Linked DNA regions of Homo sapiens: region 1 is linked to region 2. The links are contacts of gene promoters, found by promoter capture Hi-C in blood cells and fetal thymus (Javierre and others, 2016). All regions are on one chromosome and are shown on one strand. The core of a region is centred on a gene start or on the middle of the fragment in contact, and the rest is flanking DNA. Distances in the headings are between cores, read along the strand shown.

Region 1 (3,898 bases), core at 971-3,470, 52 kb before region 2:
GCAGATGGGAAAATATTTAGTATTAGTAAACCATCACATCCTCTAGCTGTATGTCCTTGTTCATTCAGGTTGTTTTTTAGTAAATGTACAGAAATAAAGAATTGATTAAAAATACAAATAAGGGAAAAATGACTGATTTAGGTTAATTCCAAGTAAAATATTCACAGCTGTGTTGAATGTATTATATATATATATATATATATATATATATATAAAACTTCAAATGAATATTTAGACTCAGTACAATACTGGGTAACATTTTAACAATAATAATATCAAAATTAAAATTTTGTCACTTTTGGTTTTATTCACAATGGGGACTGGTCACTAGAAAGACCAAGCAAGTACAAAATTATATATAAGAAAAATATACTATTTAAGATACCTTGCTAATTAAATTCTTACCTGGATGAAAAATTGATAGACTTCCATCAATATGACCAAACACAACTTTCCCCTTTTGGTGTGTATGCCATCTGAACATACAGATATCAGACAAGAAGCTATGAGCATCTTTGTGTACAATCACTCCACTATCTGGTCCTGAGATGGTCCAAATGAACAGTGGGCCTCTGTGGGAAACAAATGCCACCACATCCTCTGCATTCCAGCACCAACTAAGAGAAGCAGGGATCCCTGGAATACATTAAATACAGATACATAATAAAGATACAGCATAAGATTACACCATTAAATATTACTTGCCCTGTTTACATTTCTAAAACAAATTATTATTTTTAAGATACATTACTTTCTTATTTGGGAATTGGATTTATAAAGAAATCCCAAAGACTGCAGGGAACATAGGCAGGGAAAGTCCATGATGAAAGAAAATGTATCTAGTTAGGTTTAAATACTACTTACATGATCATTTGCTTCATATAGTCAAATACATTTATAGACTTTTTTATTTTAGTAGACTATATATTAAAGATTAGAGCAATACATTCTTACTGTGTATTTGTATATAAGACCTCTAGGCATTCTAGGTATACAAGGTAGTGTGGGATAAGATTCCTGCTTTAGAGAATTTTAAATGTGTGTTAGGGAGACAGGGATTAGTGAATAAAAATATAAATGCTACTATAAGGATTTAAAAACAATGGACTTAATGTTATAATCTATGTCTTATCAGGAATTTAGATTCAAATCTAAGCCTTGCCTCAGAAAAACAAGTCATTTTATTTCTCTAAATTTCTGTTTCCTCATCTATAAAATGGAGATAACAATAAAAATAGCTGACCACTTATTTCACATGAAAGTCAAGGAAATAAAATCATTTATGTAAAGGTACATTTACATTCCATCAATAAGATGGAATATAAAAGTTAATTGTTAATATACCTGCTATTGTGATCAAATAAATCATATATAAAATAAGTATTATGAGAAATTTATGAGAGAGAGATTGCACATCTTCCAACACTGATATATTAGCTGGCTGCATCAAAATCATGAAATGGAATATAACATATCAGATCATGTGGAGTTTGAGCCAAGGAATTTATTTATTTATTTATTTTATAATAATTATTATTTTTTGAGACGGAGTCTTGCTCTGTTGCCCAGGCTGGAGTGCAGTGATGCAATCTCGGCTCACTGCAAGCTCCGCCTCCCGGGTTCATGCCATTCTCCTGCCTCAGCCTCCCGAGTAGCTGGGACTACAGGCGCCCGCCACCATGCCCGGTTAATTTTTTTTTTTGTATTTTTAGTAGAGACGAGGTTTCACAGGAATTTATTTTTAACAAGCTTCATCAAATGATTTTGATATGCAGAAAGGTTTAGAAACCACTGTGCTACTGTCCTGGAAAGAAATTAGATTTGAATTATACCTAGAAGGAGGGGTAGAGTTTAAATACATGGAATAAGCAGTATTTCCCAGGAAGAGAAAATGATATGAACAAAGACACAGAGTGGAAATTCGCTGATTGACAGTAAGTTTAGTTTGTGTTAACAGTCTATGTGCTCCAAGAGGCAAAAACAAAGCCTAATGCCTACTTCAGGGCCTGACCCATAATGAGGACTCCATAAATATTTGCTGAATGAATGAATGTATACATGAAAAACGCCAGTAAAATAGTTGATATGGTTTTAGGATACATTAACAGAAGTAGAATTTACCCAAAAAAGAGATGAGGTACTCTGTATGGATCAAACCACCACAGCACAGTAGAGGAAAGACAATAGAATACTGGTTCTCCGACTGTATATTTAGAGAAAGACAGCAAGGAAAGCGAAAGGACCAGAAACAGTGTCATATAATAATAATAGAAAACACTTTTATAGTGACTTATGTACAAGCACTTTCAAGGAGTGTTGCAATTTAATTCTCCCAACACTATTCTGAGATAGGTAGGTAGTATTATTATCCACTGTGACATAAAGTGACTTTTTCAAGTTGGTGACAATTTTTACATTTTACATTTGGAAAAACTAATATGCATTTTCATTTAAATGGATTGTTAGATTATTAGAAACAAAAGGAAGAAGAAGTAAAAATACAGAGGCAAGATCAAATTCAACAACTGTATTTGGAAGTTGAAAAAAAAAGTTCACTTAATGCAAATTTCTACTTTGCTTAAGCTGGATTCTAAAAAGAAAAATAAGCCTAAAACATTTCAAAAGTGTTACTTAAGATGGAAATCACCAAAAATAGTCATAATTTTTTTGCAAATAAAATAGCAAAGCTTTCAATCTTCAAATTAAGAAGACATTTGGATGAGGGAGATATTGATAGCTGAAAATTTTCAAAGAAAGGAAAAACATGAAAAATTTGCCAAAAGCTTTCCACAATTATCTCATCATTCTGGGACTGTTAATTAGAAAGTATTATTTAGTTGTATATCCAGTGACAAAAGAAACTATGGTGCATATAGCTGATGAATAAATAAAATCTTCCCCCATGAATGGATGTGATGTATATAGTGTCTGATGATAAATCCATGGATACACTAGGTGATAATAAAATTAATCATTACTTCTGCAAAACATTTAGAATTTATGTTTATTATATGCAGTTATAACCTAACGTTGACTTTGTGTTACATCTTTACGAGAACAATAATATCGTGCAACATTTTAGTTTATGGCACATACAATATGGAAAGAATTTCAAGAAAAATTTGTTGTGTTATTTAAAATTAATCTCACACAAAGCTGGATTTAAAGTACTTGGAAATGCATTATCAATCAATATAAACAGTAATGGAGTAACCTATAGAATTTGTGATTGCTGGACAAACAGATATGACCAGAAAACATGGGGAGATATGAAAAGTCTTAATTGAGGCCATCAATCACAATTTATATATCACAAAGCATTGTGCCAAAATAATTTGTTTTTTTCTCATGGAAAGCCTTAAGAAAAATTGCTAATTACATTAATGGAAGCTCACCGAATAGCTGACTTTTTACAATATTTTGTTCAGAGATTGGGGCAAACATTACTCACTGTCTAATACATTGGTTGTTCTAAGTAAAAATAAAAAACAGGGTACATAAACTTGGGAATGAGATCCATATACTTCTAGTTGAAAATTAACTTCATTTGACAAATATCTTTAACAGTTGAGTAATAAAATTTATGTATTACACTGATATTTTAAGCATTCTTAATGACCTAAATTTGAAAAGACAAACCAAAATACTAAAAATATCAAATATGTCTAAAAGTTACAAAAGATATTATTTTACTATTATTATGGAAACAAAATTTAAAGATAATTGCCTATAAATTCCCAGTATTTTTGCCTTAGACTATTACAAAGAAATTTGAACAAAATAAGGTTAGTGAGATTGTCATGTCCAGTTTTATATCTCAAATTTATAACAATTATTTTTAGAGAAGAAGCTGAATTGAAAAACATATCTAGCAGTAGCTTTCAAAACCATAATCAAT
Region 2 (4,308 bases), core at 656-3,155:
GCAACAACAAAAGCAATCTAGCCCTAGTCTCCCCTCTACTGGGAGCATTGTTTTTCTGGCCTAAATTAATTTATGGCTTTCTAATCTATGGAATTATTTATGTGACTAATGGGTAACTTAAAAATATTTAGAACACCACTATTTATCATTAGAAATAAGAAGAATAAAGAATGTTAAAACTTTCAAGTAAGCATATTTAACGTCTTCTTCAGATGTCCACAGTTTTTTAAGCAGTTCTATTAATATCAACACAAGAGAAAGTCAGAACAATGTAAACAATAACATTCAACTAGTTATTTTTACATAATTACGTTTGCAGAACTCAAGAGCTTTACTTTCCGTATATGCCCTTTGAAATAAGTCATTGCTTTAAAACTTCCCAGGAACTCTAAAGCTACCATTTGTAACATTAATCTCCAAACAATCCAGTAAAGGATGTTTCCCAAAATATTAACGAATTGACAACTTTTCAAAAGCACTTAATAACTATATTTAATTTTAGATGATAGGAGGGGAAAGGTTCTCAGACCACCTATCTCAGACGTCTGCCTTCAAAACAGTTAGATATAACTATATCCATTTTCTTGAACACTTAGGCCAGTGAGGCAGAATCTCAAAAGGATGTAAGAGTGCTTTCTCCACAGAGTTTGTTTCACCACCCGCCCAGCATCAGCTCCTGGCAAGCAGGGTAATGATAAGGCATAAATCTACAAATAAATTAATGCTTAAACTCTTGTGGAGTTCAAATTTATAAATTCTCATAAATTCATTGTCATTTATTTTCTAATTTTTACAACGCAGAAATGTTATTAGAGTGCTAAGAACGGCAACTATAATCTCACATTGTTGGGCTTTGGCCGTTTCGTATCCTTTTACAACGAACTTGTGTTTTTTTGATAGTTTTCTCTAAAGGGTATTTATGAAAGATTCAGAAATGTAGTATCTCTCTTCAAACCCTTGTTAAATATATATAGTATATATGTATATATTAATATGCAAAATAATTTATTTTTGATGCATGGTCGGACTTTTCATTACTTTTCATTCGAATCAATTGCTTTTAATTAATATATTTAAAAAGTCTCCTTAAATTGTTTGTTCCTTTCAATCTTTGCAAGCAAAACAAGTCTGATTTTGGAGAGGGGAGGACAGCAAAGATTCTATTTTACGATCTACTTAATAAATAGTATACCTGCCTTATATCCAATACCGTCTTTTTTCTGGAACGCATTTCCTTTTTACTCAAACCTTTCTTAGTACAACCCTACTAATAAGTCCATCTTCAAAGGGGTAAATGATCTATACAGAAGTGTCTGGCCGGCGGAGGGATGAGAACAGCAACCTAGGCTCTAGACATATACTTAATAGCCATAAAAATAAAACAATGTCCCTCGAAATGTCCACAGTTTACACTGCAATGGTAGTTTAGATACATAAATATTCGCTGCTTGCTGTGCCTTGTAAGAATCAGGTGTGTGGCTCTAAAACTCAGTTGATTATCTCATCAGGCACCATGGTGTGCAAAGCCCTGCAGGACGTACATTACCCTGGTCCGCGATCACAGGGAGGTCAGAGCCCCTCTCGCATGACGCCGCGACAGTTCCAGCATCACCCACATCAATCCTGAGCTTGCCTTGGTATCTCTGCGGCCCCACCGGCTTCTTACCTGGAGGAGGAGGCGGCTGCAGCGGCGGACAGCGGAAGGTGCTGAAGCCGGCGGGCGCAGCTGCGAGGCGAGCACCACCAACGCGCGGACCCTCCCCGCCCTCCCCGCCTGCTCGCTCAGGGCGCCCGGGGGCGGGGCGGCCGGGCCCGCGGGCTCCGAGGGGCGGGAAGCGTGCTCCGCAAGCCCCAGCGCGGAGCCACGATGGAAGGCGCCGCGAGCCCGATCTCCAGGGTCTGCCCCAGAGGCCCACGTGACAGCTACACAGGTCGCTGATTGGAGCGCCCGAGAGGGGGAGGCGGAAGTGGCTCGTGACCCTTGGAGACTAGGCTGAGGGAGAAGTGGTTACCTGGCAACAGAGAAAGTGTGTTGAAGGCGCAGCTCCTCCGTACTGGAGCGAGGCTTTGGGCAGAGGGTTTGCACTGAGGCTGAAAGTGGAGGAAAACGGTGAACCATCAGCGTTCTCACCACCTAACACATTTTATAGCGAGTCTGCACTTTCTAGGAAAATGAGTCAAATATACAGTAAGTCAGTCATCCTGTCTCTTTCTTGAGGGACCTGGAGGAGGGACTTGAACCAGTGCCTGGAATGTGAGTGCAGAATGCTGTCTCGCCTGCACTTCATTATTGTCTGATTGGGCCCAAGAAGGTCTGTGGGAGAGCTCAATGGATAAGATTATTTGTTTATATTAATCGAGTTGTATGTGGTTAATGTATCTGCCTTCACAAAACTGACATTTTCCCTGTGGGATCTGGTTGAATGGAAGTGCTGGATGTTGTCATTCCTACTGGATTCTTCACATCTCTGAAATATCTTCACTACCTGTGGCCTTTATCCAACACACTAGAGAGAATAAGCCTCGACGTACTCGAAACAAAGTGTATTTAATGACATCTATCGAGAATTAATTATACTCCACTCTAAATAGTTAATAAATGAATGGTCGACCTCAACCAGAGAAAGTCCCTGGGCCTAATTCTTACCTTCCTATGCAGTAGATTTTAATGCTCCTTTTTTCCAAAATATTCTCTGCAGAGACGAGTACCTACCACAGCACTCAATATTCTATATTGTAAATTAAAATTAACTTAAATGTTGGATTTCCATATAAAGAATAAACTTGTTAAAGCTAAAATCAGTTCTTACAACTCCGTCCCCTATATTCTAACAAAGTATCTGATGAATAGCAGGTCTTCAATTAATTCTTGATGGATAGATGGATAAAGAAAGAAAGAAATTAGCACATAATCTACCAGAGAAAGTATAAGGGCAATAACTAAATATAACTCAATGTGTTAAGTACTAAAATAGGGTTACATAAAAGTGCTATGAGATGATTTCAGATGAGGGAGGCAGAACTTTTTCTTCCAAGGTATTCAGAGAAGCTTTCAATATGATTAGTATTTGAGCAGGGACTTATAAATAGGTAGAATTTCACCTGATAAAAAGGGGAAAGTGTATACTATGCAGCAGGAGCAGCATTGCCAAAAGCATAAAGTGGGAAAAAATAAACGATTGATGTAAATAAATTTGATGTTTTTGCCTTCTCCGGAGTTGGGGATGTGAATCCAAAGATAAGAAGGAAGATGGAAATTGGCAAAAGACTGTACTAGAAAAATAAGAAAACTTGATTGGGAAAGATGCAGAATTCTATATATGGGTTAGGCTTTAACCTCTAAACCAAAGGAAGAGATTGAAGTTTATAAAATCAGTGCTTTTTCATCAAGAAAGACACCTTGGAAACATTGGAGATACATGGGATGCAGGAAGATGAAGAACATGGTCTGTTAGGAGAAAAATTCAGTAGTTCATGGGAAAAGATGCTGATGACCTGAGTTAAGACAATGAAAATAAGAATAGCGAAGAGGGAAAATCACAAGAAACATTTCTGTGAAAACAGACTATAGTTTTCATTTATGACTGATATTTGCTAGGTATAGTGCTGAATAGTCAATGGTGTACATGAAGAGAAAATGCTGAAGATACAACGTCTAGCTTAGTCCATCGGTTGGACGGAAAAAATCTTTTATGTTTATTTTGCTCATAATGGCTCCAGCTCTCCAGTTAAGAAACAAAAAACCGGCCGGGCGCGGTGTTTCACTCCCGTAATCCCAGCACTTTGGAAGGCCGAGGTGGGCGGATCACCTGAAGTCAGGAGTTTGACGGCAGCGTGGTGGTGAAACCCCGTTCCTACTAAAATACAAGATGAGCTGGGCGTGGTGGCGGGCACCTGTACTTCCAGGTCCTCGGCAGGCTGAGGCAGGAGAATGGCGTGAACCCAGAAGGCGGAGATTGCGCCACTGCACTTTAGCCTGGGTGACAAGAGTGAGACTCCGTCTCAAAAAAAAAAAAGAAAAAAAAGAAAAAGGAAAAAGAAAGAAACATAAAATTGAATGAGACAACTGAAATTATCTAGTTGTGCACTCATAATTTAAAGATGAAGGTGTTTAAATCTCCAGTCATATTAGCAGCAGATTTTGATAGAGTGATCCCGGTCTCCCAGTTCAGGACTCTTATTCCTTTACCAGAATTTAGTTCATTCCTTTTGAACAGATTTAAATAATCACAACTATAGTTAGATTAGATCTAGAGGAACAATATACCTAATTTATAAAACAAAGATCTCTTTACTCTGATTTTTTAT

Evidence for each region. The method cuts DNA at HindIII sites, captures the fragments that hold promoters and counts their contacts. A CHiCAGO score of 5 or more calls a contact.
Region 1: a contact is called between a fragment that was not itself captured here and the fragment with the promoter of WDR17 in region 2, in 1 of 17 cell types (monocytes). The highest score is 5.3, in monocytes.

The regions. Positions count from the first base shown.
Region 1 is chr4:176,116,605-176,120,502 of GRCh38, reverse strand. It overlaps WDR17 (WD repeat domain 17), which reads right to left. Exons shown (of 29, transcript NM_181265.4): 4 at 406-636. Among named protein-coding and RNA genes, the nearest start is that of WDR17, 53 kb to the right of the region's middle. The HindIII fragment of the contact is 938 bases long and covers 1,752-2,689 here.
Region 2 is chr4:176,063,438-176,067,745 of GRCh38, reverse strand. It overlaps WDR17 (WD repeat domain 17), which reads right to left and starts at 1,905. Exons shown (of 29, transcript NM_181265.4): 1 at 1,667-1,905. RefSeq lists a silencer at 1,650-2,029. The HindIII fragment of the contact is 5,440 bases long and covers 1-3,051 here.